Regions from separate parts of the Homo sapiens genome. Here all the other regions are linked to region 1. Evidence: promoter capture Hi-C in 16 types of primary human blood cells and fetal thymus (Javierre and others, 2016). All regions are on one chromosome and are shown on one strand. The core of a region is centred on a gene start or on the middle of the fragment in contact, and the rest is flanking DNA. Distances in the headings are between cores, read along the strand shown.

What was found. The method cuts DNA at HindIII sites, captures the fragments that hold promoters and counts their contacts. A CHiCAGO score of 5 or more calls a contact.
Region 2: a fragment that was not itself captured here is called in contact with the fragment with the promoter of GPA33-AS1 in region 1 in 1 of 17 cell types (neutrophils); the score reaches 5.1 in neutrophils.
Region 3: a contact is called between a fragment that was not itself captured here and the fragment with the promoter of GPA33-AS1 in region 1, in 1 of 17 cell types (neutrophils). The highest score is 8.2, in neutrophils.
Region 4: a contact is called between a fragment that was not itself captured here and the fragment with the promoter of GPA33-AS1 in region 1, in 1 of 17 cell types (fetal thymus). The highest score is 6.2, in fetal thymus.
Region 5: a contact is called between a fragment that was not itself captured here and the fragment with the promoter of GPA33-AS1 in region 1, in 3 of 17 cell types (naive CD4 T cells, naive B cells and total CD8 T cells). The highest score is 5.7, in naive CD4 T cells.

What each region holds. Positions count from the first base shown.
Region 1 is chr1:167,050,657-167,056,269 of GRCh38, forward strand. GPA33-AS1 (GPA33 antisense RNA 1) reads left to right here and starts at 2,029. Exons shown (of 6, transcript XR_922249.3): 1 at 2,029-2,110. It overlaps GPA33 (glycoprotein A33), which reads right to left. Exons shown (of 7, transcript NM_005814.3): 5 at 5,074-5,193; 6 at 4,320-4,455; 7 at 2,180-3,810. The coding sequence ends at 3,678. The HindIII fragment of the contact is 1,060 bases long and covers 1,078-2,137 here.
Region 2 is chr1:167,490,892-167,496,504 of GRCh38, forward strand. The region is part of intron 1 of CD247 (CD247 molecule); the gene reads right to left. Among named protein-coding and RNA genes, the nearest start is that of CD247, 25 kb to the right of the region's middle. The HindIII fragment of the contact is 3,098 bases long and covers 1,654-4,751 here.
Region 3 is chr1:167,460,036-167,465,648 of GRCh38, forward strand. The region is part of intron 1 of CD247 (CD247 molecule); the gene reads right to left. All of the region lies in intron 3 of LOC101928512 (a long non-coding RNA gene), which reads left to right. Among named protein-coding and RNA genes, the nearest start is that of CD247, 56 kb to the right of the region's middle. The HindIII fragment of the contact is 2,344 bases long and covers 2,137-4,480 here.
Region 4 is chr1:167,424,723-167,430,335 of GRCh38, forward strand. It overlaps POU2F1 (POU class 2 homeobox 1), which reads left to right. Exons shown (of 16, transcript NM_002697.4): 16 at 1-2,618. Among named protein-coding and RNA genes, the nearest start is that of CD247, 91 kb to the right of the region's middle. RefSeq lists enhancers at 1-497, 498-1,468, 5,041-5,613, 5,486-5,613. The HindIII fragment of the contact is 2,700 bases long and covers 1,479-4,178 here.
Region 5 is chr1:167,382,731-167,388,343 of GRCh38, forward strand. It overlaps POU2F1 (POU class 2 homeobox 1), which reads left to right. Exons shown (of 16, transcript NM_002697.4): 8 at 1,127-1,221. Among named protein-coding and RNA genes, the nearest start is that of CD247, 130 kb to the right of the region's middle. The HindIII fragment of the contact is 864 bases long and covers 3,064-3,927 here.

The DNA.
Region 1 (5,613 bases), core at 779-3,278:
CCCAGTAAGCAACTGAGGGCATAGTGCCCATGGGGTGAGATGGCCTGGGTCAGGTGGACAGAAAGGCTGGTCTACTTGACAGCTATAAATAGCAAATTGACATTCTGTGTTGATCCAAATTGCTTAAATTCACTGTGTCTCAGCTTCCTCATCTGTAAAATGGGAAGAATAATAGCACTTATCTCATAGGGTGAAGATTATGAGATGTTCTATGGAAAAGGCCTAGAACAGTACCTGGCCCAGAGCAAGTGCTGCTGCTATAAGCATTGTACATCAGGCACTGTGAGCTTGGTTAATGTGACTCTGCATTTGAGAGCTGAGGCCCTGTCACTGTGTCACAAAAGCAGCTTAAGAACAAGACTTTTTGGGAGGGAGAGCATTAGGACAAATATGTAATGCATGTGGGGCTTAAAACCTAGATGACGGGTAGATAGGTGCACCATGGCACATGTATACATATGTAACAAACCTGCACGTCCTGCACGTGTATCCCAGAACTTAAAGTAAAATTAAAAATAAATAAATAAATAAATAACAAGATCCTGAAGAGTGGCTAATTTACCAAGCTGTGTATCAGTTCATGGATTCCTCTCTGGGCAGCCAGAGTCCCTCCTTAGGTGATAACATGAACACCTAACATTGGCATATGCCCAAGTATTTGAAACTGCGAGTGGGGATTATATGGAAAACTGTCTGAAGTGCCTAATAAGGGTTTATAGTACACAATCTTCCCTCAATTAATGGGTAGCATTTGTCTCTCTTCTAAAACACCATAAAGTCTTTGAACCAGCAGCTGGAAACCATAATTTGGGAAGGGATGCCTAACATTCTAAGGAGACTGCATTGCTGGGCTAATTTTGATTGTATAAGAACCTACAACAGTCCAATTCCCAGAGTCTGTGGACCGAAATAAATTCAGCAGGAAACTGTAGTCTTACTGAGTGATAATATGATTTGACACCCAAGTAATAGAAACATGCATTGGAGGACAGAAGAAATGTCAGCACCAGCCCTTTTCCACTTGTAAAACTCCTCATTCTTCTTCAAGATGCAGCCCAAATGCAACCTCCTCTCTGAAGCTTTCCTGAACTCCCTTAGGCTGAGTTACTCAGGCCCTCCTGTGTCCTGTAGCCCCTTCTCTTGCTCATGTAATTATGTTTCTATGTCTGTGACCGCCATTAGATTTTAGCTCCTCCTGAATAACAGTTTCTTAGTGACTTTTATATACTCTGCAAACAGCACACTGCTTGGCACGTAGTAGATGCTCACAAAATATTTGTTGTTGAATTAATGCAGTGGGTCTCGATTTCCCTCCTTTTCTTCCCTAAGCCTGGAGCTAAGGCAGGTGAACCTTCAGAGTCCTTTGAGGGGCAGAGAGAAGTCAAGTCAAACCTGGGGGAAGGTGGCCGCCTCTGCTTCCGTGGCTCCCTCAAGAACATGCTTGTGGAACCTTGCACCGTGAGGACTGGAAGGCACCTCAGAGTATCTAGAGAGCTAGGAGATGTCCTTGGGCAAGATACTGTGATACCAAATGTTATTCATTTAACAAACCTTTGTCAAGGGTCAACACATGCCAGGCCATAAAGAAGCTACAGTTCCTATCCTTACAAATCATACAGGGTGAGGCAGAGACAGACCTGTACACAGGTATAATAGGCACACAGTACTGTGTGACAAGTGCTCGGACAGGAGGGAGCACAGGAAAGGACACTGAAGAACAGACCTTGAATATCTCGCAGGAGAGTCCATGTCAAAGCCAAGAGCCCACAGCGGAGCGAAGTTGCCTTGGAGGAGGAAGCGTCACAGTTCTCTGTGACAGAACAAGAGGACTGCCCCGCCCCTTTCTCAGAAGGGGCATCATAGGAAGCAGAACTGGCTAGAGCATCTCCACCATCTTCCTTCAAGCACGTGGACCGACACCCAGGCCTCCTGGTGTCCTGACACTGCAGACTCCTGGAATATACCTCCACCAGCAGGCAGGAATCTGTCCTATTCCCAGCAACCACTAGAGGCACTGCCTGACCCTACTGCGGCCACAAGCAGAGGGACCCCAGGATTCTCAAATCTGTTACCTTGTCTCACCTCCCCTAGGAAGCAGAAGAGTGCTATGGTGAGTAGAGATGATCCATGAGACCCAAGCTTTATCTTACTGCAAACAAAATCCACATTAAAAAAGAAATAAGAATTTCCACCCACAATTTTATTATTACTGAAAGCATTTGGAATGAAGCAAAGGATTTAACAATATATATAAAAATATACATTTTTTAAAAAATCGCAAGTAGACAATAGATTTATGGAATTATTTTTCTGATCATCCAGAAAAGATAGCAATAGTAAACTGCAGTTGGGTGAGACCAGCCACTGGTCCATGAGACCTAAGCAGCCCTAACGCTGCCTGAGCTCTCAAGAGTAGAAGAAATGCTCGACAAACAGAAGGAGGCTGTGGGAGGGCAGCAGGACAGCCCCACCAGAAAACCAGAGCCCAAATGGGCTGGGCAGGGCCAGGGCTGAGGTATCGGGATGCAGGAACAACCAGGAACCCCATGTGGGTTGAGGAGACATGCCAATTATTCTGGCCTGGAGAGGAATTACCAGGACACAAGAACTCAGACCATCTGCAAGCAAGCTCCCTTGTGTGTGTTCACTTTAAATCAATTCGTGTTTAACTCACTGAATGAATACGTGGGTTTGGGTGGGAATCATCCCTGTGTCTACGATCATCTCAAGGAGACCAGAGAAGGGAAGGCACAACCAATCAAAGCAGTTTCCCCAATTAAGCTTAAGTGCCCACTAGGATGGGCGCCAGCTACTAGGGCTTCAGGGAAAGCAAAAGCCATGAGGCCCAGGCCCTGCCCCAAGGAGCTGGCGCTCTAATACAGTGAGAGCACTCGCTCAGAAGACTGTGCCTTGTGGCCCATGATTGGACGTGGGACAGAGTAACAGGATTGTTTCCACGTATGTGGACAATTAGGATAGGGTTAGAGAAATCCTTGTGATTTGAGATGGGCCTGGAGGGACAGGTACGATATTGACAGGCAGAGATGGAAAGTGTGTGGGCAAAAGCTCCCCAGGGCCTGTGCAGCAGGAGTGGGAGGTGGCCTTCCCAGGAGGGTTTGGAACATACTGGCAGCTACGGGAAGTGAGGTTGGAAAGGGAGTGGGAGCTGGAGGCCAGGCCAATGCAGGGCCCAAGCATACTCACTTATTCTTTCATTCATTCAAGAAAGATGTGTGGAGTGCAAACCCTCCACCTGGTGCCCCTCCAGGTGCTGGGCACACAGGTGAGCAGGACAGCCCCCACCCCCCAAGGCTGGCATCGCCTCCCTGGAGAGTTCTGAGTGGGAGCGCCCCATGCTCAGCGCTGTGCTTCCAGGAGCTCCTGCCAACTACGAGGGAAGTGGAGGCTGCAGCCTGGTCTTGAGTGAGGGCCAGGCCCGCACCAGGTGTCACAGCCAGGAGGGGTTACTTCACAGGACAGTGAGGTCAGCAGGATCAGCACAGGGACCCCCTTACCAGGCCAGCCATGTTCCCCACAGCTGACACTGGGGAAGAAATGTCCCCATCAATGTCTGGGATGGAGGGACAGGAGAACAGGGCTTAGAAAGGAGAAGGGAGGCCAGGAAGCGGGAGAATGAACCCCTAACCCTTCCTCCGCCGCCCTCTGCTGCTGGCCTGTCACTGGTCGAGGTGGTCCGGGGATTCACGCCCAGTGCTCCTCTGCTCTTCTTGCCTGTAGTCATCCTCCTCCTCCCTCTCTCTGGAAAGTTCTCTTAGCTGCTCTGGTGGCTCCTCATAGGCTTCCCGGTTCCTGCAGGGCAGCAGGGGACAGAGGGGAAGGATTTGCTCTCAGGTGGACCCTCAAGGGAGCTGGGCCTCATGTGCATTACAGGAAGAGCAGCCTCCAGACCTCCTCCCCACCCACCAGCTGCAGAGGACACTGGGCTGAAAGGCTGGGCTGAGAGTAAAGGTGCCACAGACTTGTTCCACGCATGAGCTGAGGGGGTTACAGGAACAGGCTGGCTTTACCAGCCCAGGAGGAACTGGCCCCGTGACAGGGGCTCCAGGCCACACTTGGCTCTAGTCATGCCACAGGAAGCCCGGCCCTGAGCTCCCAGACTGGAAAACCACAGGACTGGGAGGCAGGTCCTGGGGCTGCAATGCACATTTTATGGCTTGGACAGGTCATTGTTTCATCAGCACAAAATGGGGGTGATATACCCCAAGGGGTGCTGCAAGTAGAAGAGGCTGTGAGGAATTGGGAAGCATATTTCCAGTCTCCCCAGACCCTTCCAACAGGCTACCAGCCCAGACACTCACGGCCTTGCATCCTCCTTGTCTTCAGTGTTGTCGTCCTTCCCTCGGCAGCAGCAGCAGTAGATGATGATGCCAATGATAATGAGGGCTGCAACCACGCCCACCGCGATGCCCACATACAGGGCCACGTTCATGGAGGCTGCAAGAGGACAGAGCAGCTGCACTTGCCGAGCTTCTAAGCTAGCTCCGGGTCTCCTCCCAGCCAGGGGAGCAGCAGCTACCAGCTTCTGGTAACACTCCATGAAAGGCATGGTCTTGGAGGAATGTGACCAGCCATGGCCCAGGAATATTCTTCAGGATGGAGGTGCAGACAGAGACATATGGTCCACTTCACATCTTAACACTTTCCGGGCTACCCTGGCTCTGCAAAAGTCCTCAGATGTCAGCCCAGCCAGCTCTTTAAGCTAGATTTGGTGTCTCACCCCAGAAGGATGTGGTCCAGACTCTGCGGCAGCTGCCCTGGGCACTTCCTCCACGCCCACCGAGTGGTTCCTAGGCAGGTGGGACTGACAAAGCCTCTGAGTCCTAGAAGTCAGTCCTAGGTTCCACTTCCAAACACCAGTGGAACTGGACTGGCCTCAGAGTGAGGGGAGCCTGGGACAGAGTCATCCTGCCTAGGTCACCACAGCTAACCTGCAGGTGCGTGGCCCTAGAGAGGTTCCCCTATTCCTCCTCACGGTGGTCTCAGCTGACTTTCTGGACCCCCACCAGTTATCCTGTGGCGTTTGTCAGCCCTCCCCCCGCAGGCTGCTCTTACGAGATCTGACGGCCACCGTGATGTTGCAGAACTGCGTCCCCTCCTCATTGCTGGAGGTACAGATGTAGTAACCCGATGTGTCTGTGGAGATATTCTTCAGGGAGACAGGCTGACCTGAGGCTGCAGGGGAAGAAGAGTCAGGGTGAAGAGAGGCACTACAGTGGAGTGGAGACAGCCAGGAATGGGAGGTCTGGACTCCTTGGGAAGCACAACCTCTGCCACTGAGCTTCTTCAGGCCGGAGCCCCATGTCCACCTCCAGGGCTGCAGGACGCTTAAACCAGGCAGGGCCCACAATGTGAAGTGCTCAGAATTCAGTCAGGCACCCTGGGTTTGACACCTGGCTCTGCCACTTATTAATTTGTCTTTAGCAAGTAACTCAGCTTCATTCAACCTCCATTTCCTCATCTAAAATCAGAAATAATAGTACCTGCCTCACAGGGTACTTGCAAGCATAAAATGAGGTACTAATAATAAATATAAGCCCACAACAGAATGCCTGATATGTAGTAAGTGCTCAGGAAACATAATGCACATTATGT
Region 2 (5,613 bases), core at 1,953-4,452, 440 kb after region 1:
CACACCACTACATTCCAGTCTGGGTTGACAGAGCAAGACTCTGTCTCAAAATAATAATAAATAATAATAATAATAATAAATAAAAAGAAATTATCTTTGAAAGAACTCATATAAGCAGGCTAAAATTAATTTGTTAATTTGTCACATTTAAAATAGTCTATTTTATTCTATATTTACAATTTTTGAAATCCTAGTTTTGGCACGTCTTGCCTCTTAAAAAATTTATATCACCCTTTACTCGTTGGAATGGCTACTTGTTTAAAAAACAGAAAATCACAAGTGTTGGTGAGGATGTGGAGAAGGAATGCCGTGCACTGTGGGCGGAAAGGTAAAATGGTACAGCTGTTGTGGAAAACGGTTTGGTGGTTCCTCAGAAAGTTAAAAATAGAACTACTGGCCGGGCGCAGTGGCTCATGCCTGTAATCCCAGCACTTTGGGAGGCCAAGGCGAGTGGATCACCTGAGGTCGGGAGTTCGAGACCAGCCTGACCAACATGGAGAAACCCTGTCTCTACTAAAAATACAAAATTAGCCGGACATGGTGGCCCATGCCTGTAATCCCAGCTACTCGGGAGGCTGAGGCAAGAGAATTGCTTGAAGCCAGGAAGGGAGGTTGCAGTGAGCCAAGATCATGCCATTGCACTCCAGCCTGGGCAACAAGAGCGAAACTCCATCTCAAAAAAAAAAAAAATAGAACTATCATATGGTCTAGCAATTCTACTTCTGGTTCTATACCCAAAAGAATTGAAAGCAGGGTCTTTAAGAGATATTTGTGCACCCATGTTTATAGCAGCACTGTTCACAATCACTAAAAGGTGGACGCAACCAAGCACTCATTGACAGATGGATGGATGAGCAAAATGCGGCAGATGCATACAGTGGAATATTATTTGGCCTTGAAAAGGAAGGAAATTCAGACACATGCTACCACATGGATGAAAGTTGAGGGCATTAGGCTAAGTGAAATAAGCCAGACACAGAAAGACAAATATGGTATGATTTCACTTATATGAGTTACTTAAAGTAGTTAAAATCATAGAGACAAAAAGTAGAATAGTGGTTGTCAGGGGCTGGGAGGAGGCGGGAATGGGGAGTTATGGTTTCATGGGTACAGAGTTTCAGTTTCGCAAAATGAAAAGAATTCTAGAGACGGATGGTGGTGATGGTTGCGCAACAATATGAATGTACTTGACATCACTCAACTGTGCGCTTAAACATGGCTAAGAGGGTAAATTTTATGTTATGTGTATTTTACCAGGCAAAAAAACAAACAAACAAAAAACCTGGAGGAAAAATTAGCAGCCTGTGCTATGAAAATTGCCTCAGGTGTAAGACAGTCTTGTCAGTATTGGAGCGTGCTCACAGTTGACATGTGTGAAGGACCAGGAGAGCCGGAAGAGGTCAGCAGGCTCAGGGGGTGCTGTTAGCCTGTTTCACCGACAGAAAGGCTTAACCCCTGCGGCGCCAACTAGACCAGGAGACCTTGCCTCTCTATTATTCTCCCACTGGCTGTTGCTTATTTTTGTTAGTCCAATATTTTCCACTGCTCTCAGAGACAAAGGTAGGCAACAGTTTGCAAAATTTAGACGCTTATGTGTGCACAAAGGAAAAAAAGAAGAAAGAAAGAAAACAACAGTCTGGTGAGCTTCTGTGAAGCTTCTTAACTAGCAGGGAGGGGAATTTTCCTTTCTGGTCACGTAGGCTGCTGTCTTCGGCTTCGATTCGTAAGCCACCTCCCAAGCCCCCATTAGCCCCAGGTAGGGGACATCCCATCCCCCTAAACCTCCTTCTTGAACTGACAGTTCACCCCTAGAAGGAGGTGGGAAACCACTCAGATCCATCTCAAAGGGATGCCTACCAGGGTAGGTGTGTGGGAGGAAGGCTGAGCCCATGCTGTGTTCAGGGGCCCCCCCAGAAGGTGTCAGCCTGGAGGAACATGCCCCACAGTTATAAAAGGCATCATTCCAGGAGCTATCATGGCGTCTGCTAGGGGCAGAGAGGAAGGGGAGGCAGGAAAGGGGCTGAGTATTTTGGGGCTGTATGCTTATTGTTCTACTTTTCTGTTGAAGTTATTGCAGTTGCTGCCCTCAAATTTTTCCTGCCTTTCTCCACCCCCAATTTTGCCCTATTTTCCCTAATTTTTCTCCTTTTTTTTTTTTTTTTTTTTTTTGAGATGGAGTGTCACTCTGTCGCCCAGGCTGGAGTGCAGTGGTGCGATCTCGGCTCACTGCAACTGCCACCTCCTGGGTTCAAGCTATTCTCCTGCCTCAGCCTCCTGAGTAGTTGGGATTACAGGTGTCCACCACTATGCCCAGCTAAGTTTTGCATTTTTAGTAGAGACAGGGCTTCACCATATTACCCAGGCTGGTCTCGAACTCCTGACTTCAGGCAATCCGCCAGCCTCGGCCTCCCAAAGTGCTAGGATTACAGGTGTGAGCCACCGCACCTGGCCAGTTTTTCTCCTTTTGTCCCATCTTCCTTTTTCCTTCTCCATCTGTTCCTTTCTGCTTCTCAGAATAAGCATCTCTATCCTTAGCTTCAAATCATAAACAACTTAGAAACAGTTACTTAGCTGAGTACTGTCTCTGTGCCAGGCCCTGTGCTGAGGGCTGACATTCATTGTATCTTTGGGTCCTCACAACAGCCATATGAGATAGGTGCTATTGTGCCCATTTTATAGTTGGGGATACTGAGGCTTAGGAAAGATAAAGTAACTTGTCCAAGATCACACAGCTGGAATGTGGCAGAGCTAGGATTTGAACCTTGACAGTCTGGCTAGAAGGGACCTTACTGATCATCTCTGTCCAAATCCTCCATAATGTACAGAAGAAAACAGGACCAGAGGCATCAAGTGACGTGTCCGAGGCCCCACAGCTAGTTAGGGGCAGTGCTGAGAACAAGAAGCTGGCCTCCTAATTCTGAGATTCTTCTTGTTTAAGAAGCATTTTCCATAGGTGGGCATCTGCTAGGCTTCTTTATCTAGAATTATTAATTCCAGGAAGCATGTGCCCTGGTCAGGCACAGAATCAGCAAAAACCCCACTGGAGACCCAAAATACCCTATATGCTCTCACCATTGCAGAATCTGTTGTGTCTGCAGGTGCAGCCTCCGGGACCCAGGACTTTCTTCTCAGGGCTCTGCTGAGTTGGGTGGGGGAGGCTGGAGGCTGCAAAATGATGACAGAGCTTGGGGCTATGATCTGGACTGGGTACCCAGAGCTAATAGGAGAAGAGGACAAGCAGGGGGACAGAACTGAGTCAGGAGACACTTTAGACGATGGAGGGTTGGGGGATGGAGGTGGCTAGTGAATAAAACACTTCTGAAGGGTCTTTGCTGCCTGTGTTGATGGCCATGATCAATTCGGATCCCCAGGGCCAGTTCAGCAAAACCTCTGTCAACAAATAGAGGATTTGTTTAATCTTTTCTGAAAGAGTCCGATGTTATCTAAGTGAGGACTGGCCAGGTAATTGGAACGTTCTAGAGACTGTTGGGTTGACTTGGATTTGGGGTCAATAAACATAGCGGCTCCACTACACTAGTGTGAGGAGGACCTCGGGAGAAATCGCATAGCTCCCTGGGCTGCAGTTTTCCCATCTGTGATATGGGGATAATGTCCTCACCCTGTCGACCTCATGGGGCTGCTGTGAGGGTCAGATGAGAAAATGGGTGGGGAGGTAATAATTAGTGAACAGCACCATTCAAAGCTACAGTGGTCTTATTGCTGTGTTTTCCTAATTGTATTTTGCACTGTGGCTTTACACAGCCCATGTCTCTGGATTGTTAAAAGGATCAAAAAAGATCATGAGTAGTGCATTCCTCGGCATTTTGTATCTCCTATAATTCCTGGATACAGATAAATGTTTATTAAAGAATGTGAAGGTCTCATCAAAAACCAAGCATGAGAGGCAAGACAATTATTACCTCAGATCACATACGCCTTGGATTTCAGAGCTGGAAAGAGGGTTAGAGACCTATTCCAGGACTTTACTCTACAGCAAAGCAGTCCGGGTTCCAGAGAGCCCAGGTGACTTGCCTTGGCTGGGCTGGACTCTGTTCTCTCCCCACCTGGACCTTGTGTCCGAGGAGCAGTGTTGGACCCTCAATTCAGACAAAGTGGGAAGGCAGATCCCAAGGAGGGGAGGGCTGGTGGCCCAGGTGGCTGCCTGGAAGATACCATCACTTCTCATGCTGTCTTAGGTGAACTTTCAAAGTCCAGCGTAAGAAAAAGTTTCCAGCAACAGCATTGTGGTTAGTATTGCAGGCTTTGGAGTGAGACAGTCCTGGGTTTAAATCTTGGCTGTCTACCTAGTATCTATGTGGTCTACGATATGTTACATAACCTCTCTAAGCCTCAGTTTCTTCAACTGTAAAATGAGGATATCCTGAGGTTGTTACCTTACAGTTTGCTGAGAGGAATAAATGCAATAATGGACGGGTGTGCTCACCCCAGAGCTTGGGACTGGGTAAATACTCATAAATGACAGAGGTGGGAGTAGTTGTTACAGTAACCTACCAGAGGGAAGAAGAGTGTGCTCCCGTTTAATCCTTATCACCTACGCAGTGCTTGGCATATAGGAGCGCAACAGATGTTTCTTGAACAAACATCACTAAGTAATGCCTACTTCTGCCCTTATTCCCCCTCAGCATGTTCCTTGCCCAGCTGCTAGAATGATCCTGCCAAAACATATAATCATGTATCTTTTCTGCTCCAAGTCCTTGACCTCCATCTCACTTAGAGCAAAATGTCCTTCAAGCTTGTTTGCAACTGTCACTCTCTCCCCAAACCCCCAGAACTCAATACGTCTGACCTCACCTCCTACTGGCCTTCCCCTCACTCATACCACCTCTTTGCAGTTCCAGGAACATGCCAGTCTGCACTGCCACCTCCGTCTTCTCCAGGTTCCCACTTGGCTTGCTCGCTCACTTCCTTCTGGGTTTGACTAGAATGCCACCATCTTAGCAAGGACATCCCTGCATACCCTACCCAAAACTGTATCCCCACACCACCAGCCTGACACTTCCTATGCACCTTCTCTGTGTTATTTTTCTTCTCAGCATGTATCACAACTATCTACATATTTTTCAGTTTACCTCGTTTATTGCCTGTCTCCGTCTTTAATTGTTAGTTCTATATGGGATCTGGGATTTTGTTGCTGCTGTGGTTCAGTTTGTTCATGATTGTTTCAAAAGCACCTAGACTGTTCCTGCTACATAGTAAATAATAAATATTGGTTGAATAAATAAATGAATGAATAGCATTAGTAGTGGTGTTTGTGTGTTTGTTCATTTTGTATGGCAAGAATTGTGAAATAAAGCAGAAGGAAGGAAGGTAGGTAGGTAGGCAGGTAGTGAGTTGCTCATCACAGTAGTGTTCCCAGAAGTCTGGATTTCCATTCATCAAAGAAGCTATCGAGTGTGAGTTCTGTTGGAAGAGAGGTTGGACTAGATGATTTTGTAGGTATCACCAAATGTCTGACTGCTGCAACAGCTTGAGTCTGCTGGGGTCACACAAGAATCACTAGAGCCCTGCAACCCCCCTGCTCTTTGGGTCAGTACTTGAACCTGCCTGAGAGGGGATCTGCTTAAAAGCAGCAGCTTGTCTCCGGATCCTGAA
Region 3 (5,613 bases), core at 2,059-4,558, 410 kb after region 1:
CAGGGTAGGTTTCCTGGCATCATTCCTGTGTTTTCTACTCTCCCTCCCTAATCCTCTGAAAGTTTGAACAAAAATAAGATTATGGGCCAGGTGTGGTGGCTCACGCCTGTAATCCCAGCACTTTGGGAGGCTGAGGTGGGAGGATGGCTTGAGCCCAGGGGTTTGAGACTAGCCTGGGCAACATGGCGAAATCCCGTCTCTACAAAAAATAGAAAAATTATCTGGGTGTGGTGGTGCGCACCTGTAGTCCCAGCTACTCGGGAAGCTGAGGTGGGAGGATCACCTGAGCCCGAGGAGGTCCAGGCTGCAGTGAACCAAGATCACATCACTACACTCCAGCCTGAGTGACAGAGTGAGACCCTGTCTCAAAAAATAAAAATAAAAATAAAGAAATAAGATTATGACCAAGAGCCGTATGTCTCAGATGTTGAAGGGCAATATACCTGTGCTTCAGAAAAATCTGCCCTGTGTGCCAAAATGTGCAGAAAGGAGAGCCAGCTTCTCAGCTGGCCCCATGCCCCACTACTAACTACTCCCACGGCCTCGGCGAGTTATTTCTTCTTTTTTTAAAAATTATACTTTAAGTTCTAGATGTGAACAACGTGCAGGTTTGTTACATAGGTATACATGTGCCATGTTGGTTTGCTGCACCTATCAAGTCGTCATTTACATTAGATATTCTCCTAATGCTATCCCTCCTCCAGCCCCCTGACCCCCCGACAGGCCCTGGTGTGTGATGTTCCCCGCCCTGTGTCCATGTGTTCTCATTGTTCAACTCTCGGGGAGTTATCTCTGAGTTACTCCTGAGTCTGGGCTGGGAGACACCAGGGGGACAGGGCACACACATTTGCAAGTTTCCTATTCAGGCCATGCTGTCCAGGCAGCCAGAATGAAGCCCAGCCAGAGCCAAAAGGCTTTCCTGGAGGTGTGTTTGTCAGTTTGGCAACCCTTGGTGTGCCCAGCCCACGCGCTGTGAGCATTCGCCTATGACGTACTTTGCGTGGATCAAAGGCCCCACAAAGCCTGCCGTGCCTGCAGCTGCCACGCTGGGGACATGCTGGGGACGTGGGCGATCGTGGGCTGAGAGGCAGACTGCTGGGCTGCCGCCTCCCATGGCAGCTTTCTCCCATGGGAGGGAGTTCACCTTGCGGCTTCCAAACTCAGCCGGGCCGCCCCTAGGCATGTCACCTCTTCTCTTTTTCTCTCTGTTGTCCCATGATTTGGGTCCTCAGGACCTCTCACCTGGACCCAGGGATAAATGAGATCCACTATCAGAGCCAATGGCAGCATCGGCAGCACTCTAGAGCTATTTCTACTTGATTCTAAACCTAGATTTATACTATGTGTAGCCAGCTAGAAATACAGATCTCACTGTAGAAAAGAGACTGGAAGAAATTACAGCAACTGTTAGCAGTGGTTTCATCTCTGGTTTGTGAAATTATGGGTGATTTAAATTTTCTTTATGCTTTCCCTTATTTTCCAAGTTCCATAGTGTATAAGAATATGTAATTTTGAAATAAGAGAAAATAGTCGGCCGGGCGTGGTGGCTCACGCCTGTAATCCCAGCACTTTAGGAGGCCCAGGCGGGCGGATCACAAGATCAGGAGTTCGAGACCACCCTGGCCAATATGGTGAAACCCCATCTTTACCAGAAATACAAAAATTAGCCGGCTGTGGTGGTGGGCGCCTGTAGTCCCAGCTACTCAGGAGGCTGAGGCAGGAGAATCGCTTGAACCTGGGAGGCAGAGGTTGCAGTGAGCCGAGATCACGCCACTGCACTCCAGCCTGGGCGACAGGCTCAAAAAAAAAAGGAGAAAATAGTCAAAGTACATTTTTGATGCCTTGTATTAACCTCCCTTTTGTGTCCCCCACCCTCAAACCTTAGTTGCACTTTAGGTCAATGAATATCTAAATCACTCTGCATTCTTCAGGCACACAGCAGCAGGAGGGAGGTGTGCCTGATAGGATGCTGGATTAAAGATTGGTTCTGACCAATTCACAGAGTATAGGATGCCCACAGGAGGAAAGCTGAATATTTAGCATGGTGTAAGTCTCATGGGACTTGGCCACTGTCACAGGCTAACTGATGCCCAACCTGCATGGAGCCCAGGCCCTCTCCCCACCTGGCTCTCTTCAAGCTTAGGAGGCTCCTCATCCCACTCAGGGTTTAAGATTCTCCTTTGATATTCTAGGACATGGACCAAGTTGGGATTTAGGGTTGCTCTTGGGTTACCAGCCAGCGTCCCTGAAGCCCCTCCCAAAATGTCACTGGGGCCCTGTGACCATAGAAGAGGCCTCTGTGGGCCACACAGTGAGTCCAGCGATGAAGCCAGACCAGTGTGGTTTAGGGAACAGGCCGCAGCAATGGGCAGGAACTCTGGCAAAGCTGTGCCTCCTATGGCTCTCCTCGACACAGAAGTCACAACCCAGGTTGGGGACCTAGGCGTCTCTGCATGTGCCTGTGTAGGAGCCTGTGTGTGTAAACAAGTGTATCTACATACACGAGAACCCAAGGGAGAGAGCTGCACAGGGGGCCTGCCCTGGTCTAAGCCAGAAAAGGAGGAGAACTGTTCCTTTTGGGGGCCGATCCCTGCTGGGAGAGGTGTGCCAGGGTTCCCGCCGCTGGGCCATTTCCCCCACCTGAGTTCTCTCTACAATGTCCAAAGAATGGGACCAGTAAAAGGGGGCCAGGGCAATTCTCCCACCCCCTGGAAAAGTCTGCCCTCCCTCCCTGCAGGCCTGAAGCCCTTCCGGCCCTCATCCTCCCCTTCTCCTGTGTCATCCTGTCTTCAGACTGATACACTCCTTCCCTCTGGTTTTCCTCTCAGTTGTCTCTTCCTTGCATTTCCCTCCTTAATTCCCTCCCACCAGCCTTATTTTTTTCTCCATCATCTGTGCTTGCTCTTCCATCTTTACTCTTGATAGCCTCATTGCCTGTCTCCTCAGATAGCCTTGGGTGCCAGGTTACCTGGCATCCCTGGCCCTAAGAATTTGGGGACTGCTTCTTTTGCTTGATCCAGCTCTCTCTGGAGGATGGGCAGTCGCCGGGCCATCCCAGGAACCCTTCCTGGGTTCTGTTTGTGGCTTTTCTGCGTTGCCACTGAGCATGGGTTGCTCTCGGCTGGTTAGCATAGGAGGTCACACTATCTGTTCTGGTGCAGGAATTGTCCAGGGAATTACAGTCAAGGCTGCAATGTGACCTATGGCCTGGGGCCAGCAAGCCTTTCTTAGTCTCCAGGCAGGCCAGGTACAGACAGCAAACTCAGAAACCCACGATTACATTGGCTGTCCTTTATATTAGCACACCAGGATGCACCCAATTAGCAGTGCTCATTCCTGCCTCCCTTCTGACTTCAAATACCTAAAGCCCCTCATATCTGGAAGCAGAGACCTGAAAAAGTCATCATTTCTTTTTTTAAAAGGAGAAAGGGAGAGGGAGGCTAACACACATACACTTATTCACAAAAAATAAAAGATGGTTTCATGGAGTTAGTCTGCTGGGATATTTAGAATCTAGGTTTGTAACTTGCATCTCCTTTCTCTTGATCCTACATTTCAGCCTCCAATTTAGTGGGAACTTGAACTGAACTGTGCTAATTTATTACTTGGACACCAAAGAGTTATTATTTTGTGGAGGAAAATCAACTTTGAACATTCAAGAAAAAAGACCCCATTGTAATGATTGGTTAGAATTTGATCTGGATCTACATAGATTCATTTTCTAAAACTATTCAATTAAGGATAATGTCAACCTATTGCCTGAATTTAAATCAGCGATTCATTTGGCTAATGAATTTTCCTTTTTCTGTGAGTACCGTGTCCTACGAATTTACAGGGGATGGTCAGAGAAATGGTGACAAAGAAAAGGAGGTTTGTTTGTTTTTAATGTTTTGTTTGCTGACTTAAAAAGCACACAGCCCTGGAAATGGCCTTCTCATTACTCGAGACAATAAAACATCCCAGAAATCCTGACACTGGCTAATAAGACACATGCCTTTAATGACAGCCTCAAAAAGAAGCCCCTACGGTGGAAAGTGTTGTGTGTTTGATTGCGCTAGTTTTACCATGGAATGTGCCAGTTGTGGCTGGAAGTAATTGTCTTTTCAGTGGACAACAATAAAACTGTTTTTAAGTTCTCTTCCTTAGTAAAGCCTAATTTATAAATGGAAATAAGAAGTTTCTAATTTCCCCCAAGCAGATGCCACTCTCCTTGAACTAAAATCACCTTGGGATTGCAGTGGAGTCCAGCATGAAGATGCGGTTTTCCTGCGTTTCCAACTCAGGCTGATTGAAGGCAGCTTATTTGTTTCCCCAAACACTTGGCTCCAAACACAGAGGGCTCCCTGCTGAGTGATGGGTTCCTAAAAACCTGTTTTTCTTCAGGGGAAGATGGGTTTAGTTCCAGTTCTGAACATCTCTAGGGGTTGCTTCCTCCAAGAACGGCTCAGAAATAGTCCCCTAAGGAAACTCCATGGGGAGAAGCTTCCCTCAAACTCAGGACTGGCTGCTTTCTGCTTTGGACAAGGATGCTGGCTCCCAAAACAGGGGCCCAAATAACTTGAATTCTCAAAAGCTATTTTTATCTTTCTCAGCCCCCACTCCTATTCTAAAAGTAGAAAGCTGGGGAAACAGGGTGAGTAGAAGAAGAGGGGTACAAAAAGGATCTACAGAGAATTTTGCCTGTAGTTTTTCTAGCTCTGAAATGCCTGGGGACAGAAGATGACAACACTAACTTGAAACTTCAATTGTCTCTGTTTTAAAGGCAGACACTTTTAATTAGACAAAAGCAAAGGGAAAGAAGAATAGAAGTACAGTTACCGAAAAGGCCCCAAGATCGCACTATTTATCTGCAGTGTGTGCTCTGTAAAAAACAAAAACAAAAACAAAAAACAAATAACAACAAAAAAAAACTGCAGCAACTTTTAGAGAGCCACATAGTATTATTCCAGCTCTTTCTTCCCCTCTGTCTCCATTTTACGTTTATTTCCTTTTTATTGGTTTCACTATCTCTTGCTTTTTCTCTTCTCCCTCCAATACTCAATCTTCCTGTCCATATATTTATTTCTTTCCTTCCTTCCCCACCTCCTTTCTTCTCCTTCAGAGACCTATCCAGACAGAGAATCATGTGTTTACAAGCCTCATACACAGAGTTGTTGGAGAAGGCGCCAGCCCCCTCCCCACCACCCTGCTAGGCCAACCTGCCTCCAGTGGCCAGTCCCTTATAAACTGGAGATCAGTGAGATAGAAAGTCACTCATAGATGCCTTCCACCTTCCTTTTTTTTTTCTTTTTCTTTTTTTTTTTTTTTTTTGAGATGGAGTCCCGTTCAGTTGCCCAGGCTGCTGGAGTGCAGTGGTGATCTCAGCTCACTGCAACCTCCACCTCCCAGGTTCAAGCGATTCTCCTGCCTCAGCCTCCCGAGTAGCTGGATTACAGGCTCCCGGCATCATGCCTGGCTAATTTTTTTTGTATTTTTAGTAGAGACGGGGTTTCACCATGTTGGCCAGGCTGGTCTTGAACTCCTGACCTCAGGTGATCCATCTGCCTAGGCCTCCAAAAGTTCTGGTATTACAGGCGTGAGCCACCGCACCCAGCCCCTTTCTTTCTTCTTCAC
Region 4 (5,613 bases), core at 1,579-4,078, 370 kb after region 1:
ATTCCTTTTTGTTGCAAGGGGTCTTCACAGGTCTCTTAACATCTGCTTTCCCTGCCACCCTGCCTTTAGGGGCTGGCCAGCTATCCACACCCCTAACCCACCCTGTGTTTCTGACAGCTGGCCACACGTCAACTTCTGTACTTGCCTTTTCCTTGGTGGGGTAGAGGCCAACCCCTTCTCCTCTGAGGCCTCAGGGTTCTGTTTCTTTTCAGGACTTTGGGTAGAAGGGAAGACACCAAAGGCTCCTTTAAGCTGACTGCTGCATACACATTTCACTTTTTTTCCTTTGACATGACCAAAAATATCCAAATATTTAAGTTTATTATTATTATTATTATTATTTGACAATCTTATATCCAATGGGCTCTCTAGAAGCTGCATCCCCAGCCCTTTCACCTTTTCTTTGAATGTAGTTCCCAACCTTCAATTCCCACCCCTAATGCTGACAAAAAGCTTAGCCAGGTCATGATACTGCTGCTATAAGCCAGGGGAGGGTGGTTTCTTTGTTTTGTTTTGTTTTGTTTTGTTTTTCAAATTTCCAGCCAAAACCAAAGATTTCTTAATGATTGTATAAACTCAAAACAAACAAAAGAACCAAAGAAAAGGGAAGTCTTCAGCATCAGTCCAGTCTGTGGTGTCCTGGCACTTAGAAGAGTGAGGCCAGGGAAGGTGGGGCGGGGGGACCCTCTGACTGGATCAGAAAGGGCAGGCAAGCTGCTTACCACCTTCCAGGGTCCAGCACAGGTGCATGCCCCTAGCTTTGGCCCTCACAAACTTGTGAGCATGCCCTGAAACAAATTGGCATTTCAGATTTTCCAAAACAAAAGTCAAAAAACCCCATCACCACCATCATCCACCCTACACCAACCAGGGTCACTATGGGGACTTAGCACAGGGCCTAGGGAGGGTGGGAGCTGCTGCTGGACTGGCCCGAGGACTCCACAGAGTGGGGGACGTTGAAGACACTGGCGCACGATTGGCTGCTCTGCTGGGTGCTTTAACCTCTGGGGCTGGGCGAATGCACGCCACGGTGCCCTTCTGAGCCTTTTTTTCTTTTCCTGTACTGGAACTGCTTGGAAGTGGCTGTCCTGTTTGTGAGAAAACATGCAGAAAGATTATCAAGCTTTTCATTTCTCTTTATTGTAGTTTTCTTTCCTTTTTGCAGCACCACTGTGCAACTATGCATTGTACTTCACAACCTTTTGTGCTAGGTAGATGCCTGTGACTTTTTAACTTGGGGGGTGGGGGGATTGCAAATGAAGGAACTTTTTACATGGATCTTTTTAATCTCAGTTGGTTGGGGGAGGGGGGTACTTGGTTCTTGGGTCACACAAGCTCTATCCCAAAGCAAAATCCAAATGTTAATAATATTAGCCTGATGCAGATACCAAAGATAATTTCTTTCCTGCAGAACCTTAGACTCGTGTATTAAGTACGATTACCCAGCACTTGCATTAGTCTAACCTCAGTAATTCCAAAGCTTAGATGTATATTTTGGTATATTTCTGGGATATTAAAAAAAAAATGTCGTTTAACTTCTTGTTTGTTTCAGTGTAATGCTCTTAAAGTCATAGCATGAAAATAATTGAACTGTCCTATTCTTAGTAGTTTGAAATAATAGTATTTTTGTATGTTTTGGGTGTGTCTATGTATGTATTAACATAACAGTTTTCACTGCCTAGGTGTTCATAATAAAAAAGAAAATGAAAAAAGTTCTGAGTGTACATAATATTCAATAATAATCTCCCACCAGGTGTCAATTTAGATTGCATATTCCTCATTACTGTTCCCAACTGGGATTTTGTTTTCTTTTAAAGAGACAGTGATCGTGTTTTTCTAAAGATGTTTTCTTTCTCTCTTTCAATATCTTAACTCACTTTTTTTTTCTTCCTTTTTTGTCTTAATTATTAATTCAGGGGTGTTTGTCCACTGTTGTCAAAGGAGGGGCACAAGGGGAATTGGCCCCCGGCCTCCTAGAACTTTTTGTTTTATGTACTTTAAAATGTGAGTTTGAGTTCTTCTTTGTGGAAACTTAAGATGTGGTGTAAATGATTCTTTCCAAAATTGTCCAGCAGCTTGAATGAGGCAGTGACAATTCTGAGGTGGTTTATTGGGAGTCCTTCTACATTTCTCTTAGATAACTCTGCACTCTGGGTGGCTATTGTGTAGCCTTACTGCCCCAGAGTGCCTGTTAGCCAAATATTTCCCCTCTGATAGGAATATTTTCTAAGAATCAGCTGATAACTTGCGTGCTGGACCTTGTTATCTGTGCCCCTGGGAGACACACGTTTTCTTGGTTTTGAAAACCTGAAACACAGGCAACTTTACATTTTGGGGAATTAGCTGATGCCTCCTGAAGCCTGAGGAGGTGGCGGGGAATATGAGCGGTGCTGTCTCTCTCAAAAGTGCCCTTTAGATGATTCCCCCTCCTAGGGCTGCCTGCAGGGGCTGTAGGCTTGGGAAAGATTGTGTAGGTGACAGTGAATCAGAATGAAGTGGTAGATTTTGTGTAGATGCATTTGTCTGCTGTAATTTTTTATATATATATTAAACTTACTGTAACTGTACAGTTCATTTCTGTTGTAAAACATCATTAAACCATCTTCCAAGTGTTTTCACATTGTTGGAGTTTCTTTGAAATTGCTGTGTTGGTATTCTGGATGCTTCACATACAGATTCTCAGACTTCGCATAATTCAGCTTCCAAATTGTTTTTTCCAAGTGCTCTCAGGAACCCCAGAATCACCATAAGCACCCTGGTTCCTGCCCCACTCCACCCTTCCTCCTGCACTCCAGGAGGAGCTATGGCCACTGCATTTCTCCCTCCCAGACCCTCAGTGTGGTTTCGTGGGACCCTGAGTAGCAGTAGTCTCCCTCAGGCCCAAGTACTTTGTGTGATCAAACACGCAGGCCCATGATTGATCCTGCAAGGGAGCTCTTCAAAGCTCCATCTCACTGTGTATTTGACTGCAGAACTGGGACCGAACTCAACTTTTTCCAAATGTATTGTTTAAACTGCACTGCCCCTCTAGCATTTCTTGCCAAGTCCTGAACATTCACTGGGTGGGGGCCGGGTGGGGGGTCCTCCGAAGGAAGGTAACCCTGAACTTGGCATCTGGTCCTCCTCCTGTTCGAGGCTGCACAACTTAGCTTCTTCAGACTTATAAATACCACTTAGCATTTAGTGTCTTACTACAATTCATTCATTTCATGAAAAGTAAAGTTTGAATTTTAAAATGAATTCCCCACAGAGAGAAGGCTTCAGCTTACTGAAGAACCTGGGGAAGTTGTCTATCACGTGCTGGCCATCTGGCAGGCATTCTTGAATTAGATGATGTGGAGAGCCGTTGTCGCAAGATGTGCTCGCTCTCCTGGAAAGGGACCAAAATGGGAAGGCAAATGGTGGGTCCCTTTCTCCCTGCTCCTTTATCATAGAATTTATATTTTTCCATTCCATTCCTTAGATATATGGCTTATGTCTCAGTTTGTAGTTATTTTCTTAAAATAATGTCAAGTTTTTAACAGAAATCCTGTTTTTGAGATAGTGTCGTGCTCACAGACTTAGCAAGCAAAACTCGTTTGTCATATCCTAAGGAATGAGGATAAACAACTGATGAGATTCTGTTACCCTGTAGTCCTTTGTGAAAAAGTTGTTAAATTCTAACCCATTTCCAGGTTTGTATACAAAGCTGAATTACCTATGGCAGGATGTGAATAATATATGCCCTTACTCTTTTGTTTTTGGAGGGACTTACATCTCTCCAAAGACCCAGGTTGAAGTTAACAGGAAATCCGGTGTTAGGACTCAGTCATGGGTTCACAAAAGTAGTTGTTGATCAACAACTGAAATGTCCAGCACCAAGCAACCAAAACACATCACAAGTTATTCATGGACAGTTTGAGGCCTGTGGCTAAACAGTTGGCCAAATGACAAGGCTTTAAATCACCCCGGAAGTTGTCCTCTTAGCCTAAGTAGGTCATCTGCCATTTTTTCTCTGCCAAGCCAGGCTTTGCAGTTTTGAGTATTTCTCTGCTTATAGGAACATTTTAAACTAGAAACCTTGGATCTTATTCCAAGAATGACCTCAAATTATACTCTAAGAAGAAAAGCGATCAGAAATATTCATATCTTATCTCTGAGTTTAGTGACATTTGAATAAACGTTTGAAAAATATTGAAAGCTTCCATCTTTATATATAATGTGTTTCCTCAATACAAGTAAAATTCCATGTTTCCTTGATTCTAAGCATATCTTCACATTTTAACCCATGAAACAGATCTACATCTTACAATGGATATTTAGTGTTTTTGCCCTTGAAATAAGTTGATACATCAGTAACCAACAGTGTCTTAGGATGGAGGGAGTGCAGTTGTGCTGTGGAGAAGGCATTGCCAGACCTCAGGAAAGACAGGAACCCTGGCAGTTCCAGGGCTAGCCGCTCTCCCCTCGGATTCAGGGCTTTGCTCTCTCAGAAACTGGTTTCTCAGCCCTGCTTCTGTGAGCATATCTCAGTTCTCCCCCAGCTTGCTGTCTGTGTGGTTACCTTGCACGTAGCCTGATGTGGCCCACACCTCAGTTTAGCTCTAGCACCATAGCTCACTGCCCACTGCCAGCTTTTCTTTTTGCCTCTTTAGACATGTTATAAAAAAATTATATATATATATATATATTTTGAGATAGGGTCTCCTTCTGTTACCCAGGCTGGATTTCGGCTCACTGCAGCCTTGACCTCCTGTGCTCAAGCGATCCTCTAGCTTCAGCATCCCAAGTAGCGAGGAACACAGGCACATGCCGCCATGCCCAGCTGTATTTTTTTGTAGAGACGGGGTCCTCCTGTGTTGCCCAGGCTGGTCTCAAACTCCTGGGCTCAAAGGATTCTCCTGCCTCAGCCTCACAAAATGCTGGGATTACAGGCATGAGCCACCATGCCCAGAATGACATATTCTTGACAGAATTGGATCAACTCACTTTTCAAACCAGCCATCCAGGTCACACAGCCTGTATATATGTCAGCTGACCTTGAAACTTGGTCTAGCACAAGCCCTCGATGTGAGAGGCACTCTCTTTCACTAATAGATGAACCAGATTTCAGTTTTAAAAGCCCAGTGAGTAGCAGAATTCCCCTGAGGCTGAGTTACAAATCAAATGCCTTCTCCTTATGAGTTGCCTGTGAATTGTTAAATATGCCTAGTGATGATGTGCGTGGCTCCTGTTGGAATCCCAAATTTTCAGGGGCTTTAACAGTCATGGTCTTGGATTTCCTTTTTGAAAATGTCAAGGTATAGATTTCAGTCTTTACACAATATTAGTTGGTGGGCTTGTTGAATTGGGGCCCTATATATAGCCACTGCAGTTAGAGGAAACACTGCTAGGGACAGGGCCACCTTTTGTGAGAGAAACGCCTAAAAGACTTGTTCTCCATCCCTCCCTCAAACCCTATGCACTGAGACATTTTGCACTGTGGCGTCAGCTGCTGTGCATAACTTCCGGACACCTTCTGCTCACACGCTGTCTATTCTGATGCCTGGGTGCCAGGCCAGCCTTTCGCGCTTGTTTTCCTGCACCTGACAAGCTGGTGCCGTGCTGCAGGGCTCCTTTCCCATAGCCCTCTCT
Region 5 (5,613 bases), core at 2,246-4,745, 330 kb after region 1:
TATTTCACTTGTCCCAGATCAGCAAAAGTCAGGGTTCTTTAGAAAAATTCAAATCTATTTAATATATTTATCTTATTTGTGACCTACATTATGAAATAAATATTAGTATCTTTTGATAGCTTAAATTTAGGCAGTGCTTAGTTACTTATAAATAAGTGATAAATTCTATGGCTAATCTCTGGCAGGCTTAAGTGTTCTGGCTGTTGTCCTACATATTACAACATTTAATATATCCAAATTTAGTAACCTAATGAAATCATAATTAGGAAGCTATTGCCTCAGATAATCTTATCACATATTCAAAAGAAAATGGTAAAATCCCTTTTGTTTGGTGTGCTTTGTCGAATACTTTCTACCATTGCTCTTATCACAGCAAACATAATCTTGTATTTAGTATTTTAGCAACAGCATTTTATCTGAAACTCTTTACTTAAACTCTTTACTCTGTATTTAAGATTAAATCCTTAAATACAGACATTCTGGGTTGGTCCTGTCTATCAGTTTCTGAAAATAAAAAGCCATGTATTCAAGTAATTGAGCATCTTCTACAAACAAAGAGTTTGTATTTCTACTTTGAATGTCAGTTTGTCATCATGAAGCATTGGTGGCATTACATTATCAATTATTTGAAACTAAGACAGTTCAGTGTTCATGCAGATATTAATAGAATATTTTACATTTCAACTTTATTATCACCAACAGGCAAATGTTTGATAAAGAGAACTTGAAAATGCTTCTTTTCCTCTGGTCCAACATACGCTGGCAGTTTCTAATGGATTCTAGGTTAAGAAGTTGAGCTCTTTTTGGAATTTCCAGCTGTTTCTATTTAGAATAGTTTTTTAACTTTCATCCCATTCTTTCCTAAAATAAAGGATTGACCTATCACAGAGCTTATTCAGATTATGCCAAAGACATATCAGTTTTAATTTAATGTTGTATATCTTCTCTTCCAAGTTGTAAAACAAGATTGAATGTAAGGCAAATAAGATAAATAAGAGTTTTGATACCAGTAAGACTACCAGAGATCAACTGGAAATTTTCAGCTCATTTTCTGATTCTTTCTTTCTTTTGCCATGTGTTCGAAGAAATCTTTAATGTTTCTGGATAACATGTTTTTCTTCTACAGGTCTCCTGCAAGCGCAAAATCTTCTAACGCAACTACCTCAGCAAAGCCAAGCCAACCTCCTACAGTCGCAGCCAAGCATCACCCTCACCTCCCAGGTCAGTTTTCTTCTATGGGGGCTGCTTTCTCTTATCATATTGTTTGGGGAGACTTTTGGACTTTATTTAATTTTTTTTTTAAATCTAATAAAAATAATTCGGTCTTCGAAAACTGACCAGAAAATCAAAGCTAGGCTTATCAGCTCAATGCTACCAAATCAATATAGTCTTTGAAAATCTTCAGAGTTCCTGTTTCTTATATGTTCTTAAAGAATAACTGCATTAGCAGTAAATGAGTAATGAGTTCTAGCTATGTGACATCTCCCCTCACCATACTTGGCGGTAGATATTACCACTTAAACTGGAAACCTAGTGAGCCTCAGTTAAAAATCCATTGTTACCCTTTACCCTTTCTCAGAAACTGCTAAGAGATTTTGATCTCTATATTTTCTTTTTTCTCAATGCTTTTATGGTGCTTTAGCTCATTTCTACTAGACCATATAAACACTATAATTATATTAAAAAAATTTAGACATATAAAGGTTTAAATTATAGACCTGATTCCACTTCTTATCTAGCTGTTGCTTTGAACATGTCATTTTATCTCTCTGGACCTCAGTCTTCTCATCTATAAATTAGGTGACTGAACTGGCTGATCCTGAATCTCCTTCCAGCTCTGACTTTCTTTGTCTGCAGTATGGAAGTTATCACTTAATACTAACACATTACCAGATTTGACAGAATTCAGCATCCATTTATGATAAGAACTCTTGCAAACTAGATATAGAAGGTAACTTTCTTAACCTGGTAAAGAGCATGTATTAAGAAAAAAAAAAGAAAAGAAAAAAACCAACATCATACTTCACGAAAAACTGAATACTTTCCCCCTAAGATCAGAAACAAGGCAAAGTGACCAGTTGCCACTTTTATTCCACATTATACTCAAGGTGCCAGTAATGCAATAAGACAATAAAATAAAATATTAATAAATGACATACAGATTAGAAAGGAAGAAGTAAAACTATCTTAGTTGCTAGATGACATGATTGTCTATGTAGAAAATCTTAAGGAATCTACCAAAAAAAGCTACTGGAATAAGTGAGCTTAGCAAGTATGATACAAACTCAATATATAAAAATCATTTACATTTCTATACACTAGCAGTGAGCATTTGGAAATTGAAATTAAGAAAAAGAAATTTACAGTACTTAGGGGTAAACAACAAAATATTTGTAAGGCCTATACAAATAGTTCTATAGTTGAAAACTATAGAACATTGCTGCATAAAATTAAAGACCTATAAAATAGAAAGAAGTAATATGTTCATGAATCAGAAGACTTAAGTTAAATGTTAAAATGTCAGTTTTTCCCAAATTGACCTCTAGATTCAACAGTCTCAACCAATACCTAGCAGGCTTTTTTGTAGAAATTTGCATACTGTTTCTAACATTTATATAGAACTGTAGAAAACACAGAATAACCAAACGATTTTGAGAAGAAAATTGAAGGACTACTGATGTCAAGAATAATTATAAAACTCAAGTAATGAAGACAGTGTAATACTGGCATATGGATAGAAATAGAGATCAGTGGAACAGAATAGAAGGTCCAGTAGATCCACATGTATATGGCCAACTGATTTGCCAAAGGTGCCAAAGGATTTCAATGGGAAAAAAAAAGTCATTCAAAAAATGCAGCTGAAACAATAGGGAAAAAAAATAAAAAACCTTGACTATTATTTCACACCATGTACAAAGATTTGTTTGATGGGTCATAGACCTAAACTTAGAGAAAAAAGCTTGGAAAAAAATCTTTGTGTCCTTGGGTTAGGCAAGGATTTCTTAAATAGGACACAAAAAGCACCATAAAATAATGGATAAATTTAATTTCATAAAAATCAAAAGCTTCTCTCAAGTGAATGAAAAGAAAACCACAGATGGGGAGAAAATATTTATGAAACATATCTGATAAAACATTTGTGTTCAGAATGTCTAAAGAACTCATTCAAGTTAATAATAAGACAATCTGATTTAAAGGAATGGGCAGCAAAAAAATTGGAGATACGTCACCAAAGATGATATGTAAATGTCCAGCAGGCATATGAAAAGATGCTCAAAAACCGTTAGTGATCAGGAAAATTTAAATGAAATATCACTACACAGTCACTAGAATAAGCAAAATTTAAAAGGCTATGACAAAACCAAGTGTTGGCAAGAAGGTAAAGCGACTAGAGTTCTCATACATTGCTTAGTGGTGTTGCAAAATGGTATACACACTTTGGAAATTATTTTGGCAGTTTCTTTTTGGGGGGGTGAGGGGGAGGCAAGGTCTTGCTCTGTCACCCAGGCTGGAGTGCAGTGGCACAATCACAGCCCACTCTAGCAGCCTGACCTCCCAAGCTCAAGCAATCCTCCCGCATCAGCCTCCTGAGTAGCTGGGACTACAGGCGTGCATCACCATGCCCAGCTATTTTTTGTAGAGATGGGGTTTCGCCATGTTGCCTAGGCTGGTCTTGAACCCCTGGGCTCAAGCAATCTGCGTGTCTTGGCCTCCCAAAGTGTTGAGATGACAGGCGTGAGCCACCGCACCAGGCTGGCAGTTTCTTATAAAATTAAATGTGCATGTACCTTGTGACCCAGCAGTTCTGTCCCTAGAAATGAAAGCATACGTCCACACAAAGACTTGTATGTGAATGTTTCTAGCAGCTTTATTCACCTCAAACTGGAAACAACCTAAATATACATCAGCTGGTGACTAGGTAACATAAGCTTTAGCATATCCATATGATGGAATGCTACTTTGCAGTAAAAAGAAACGTGCTTCTGATACATGCATCTCCTGTGAATCTCAAAAGCATTATACTACATGAAAGAAGACATAAAAGACTGCATACAGTATGATTCAATGCACATGGCATTTTAGAAAAGACAAAACTAAGGTACATAAAACATATTAGTGGTTGCCAGGGACGGGGGGCTAATGGTGGGGATTAACTGCAAAGGGAACAAGGGAACTTTTGGGAGTGATGAGAATGTTCTGTATCTACTACTATCTGTAGTAACTGCTACTGCAATTAGTAGCAGTTGTATGACTGTAGTTGCTGAAACATATACTTTGCCCTTTTAAATGGTGAATTTGTGAATATGCTGAATGCAAGAGTGAGGTTGGGATTTTGAAAAAAGCCTATACCAGAGACTTCTTCCTGGCCTCCGTTCTCTGCATATGGTGGCAGGGCCGTTGTGGCTTCATCCTGACTCCTGCTCACTGAATTCTACTCTGCCATTTCTAGATCTGGCCCAGTCCAGCCTGAGGTTTCTGGAGCTGGGGTAACTTATCTGTAACCACCCCATCTAAAGGTACCCAAGCGATTTTTAGTCCTTTATTATTTGAGAATGGGGCTACTTCAGGCCCGGAGATGAAGTAACAATGTGATAGTTAAGACTCACCTGTAACTGTCAACCAGTTTCGCTGTGAGAAATGTACAGCTACATAGGGGTCTGCTATGGTTGGTGCTCGTTTTGGCTCCTCCAAAATGGTCAGGTTGAAAATTACGCAGTGTCAGCATGACATAGAAATGAACTTTGTTATTGTCATTGAAACAGGATAAGAGAGGAACTTAACTCCAGTTGTCGCCTGTGTAATGCTTATTCTGTAGTTTTCTGGGACAGTTAGTTCCTTTGGAGGAAGCCTTGACTCATAAGGTAAAGGTCAGGCTTATATAACTCATCTAAATTTGAAGAAGAAAAATTCACAGCCACAGACTTTATCTGTAATTCTGGTTTATAATCGCTCACCTGGGCTACTCTTCACAGGAGGAGTCAACTGAGCAACTAAGATGCAGTCAGGCAGTGCCTCCCACTAGTGAGGTGTGTTCCACTCAGGGCTTGTGAATAGAACAGAATAACCTTAAGTTTGTGTGATAAGAAAGTAGAGTATTTTATTTTTAAAAAGAGACTATACCCTCATGTCCCAAAATAAACTATACATGGATTTAAATAATCAAATATTCAACAAAGAAGAAGCTAGCAGATTAAAAGGAATTTTATCAATGTTAGAAATAAGTGAAGCTTTCTCAGATTTGAAGTAACAGGATATATTAGAAAGGAAAATTAAAAGCTCACCCAAATGACAATTTAAAGGTTTATGTACCCTGAAAAATAAAAGGAAGAAAGCAAATTGGAAAAGCATTTGCATTAATATGACAAAGCTTCCTTTATAAAATTTGAGGATCTCTCTAAGGATAAGGATGAGAATAAATATCATTAATATATAAATTGGTTAAGGACGTAAATCCAATTCACATTCAAAGAAATACAGATAATAATTGACACATGGGAAAATTTTGACATTGAGTAGTAAGAGAAATACAAATTAAAGCAGCAGGGAACTACCATTTACTTCTTGAATTAGCAAAACATTTTTTAAAACTGCTAACGTAAGTCATGTGGAAGA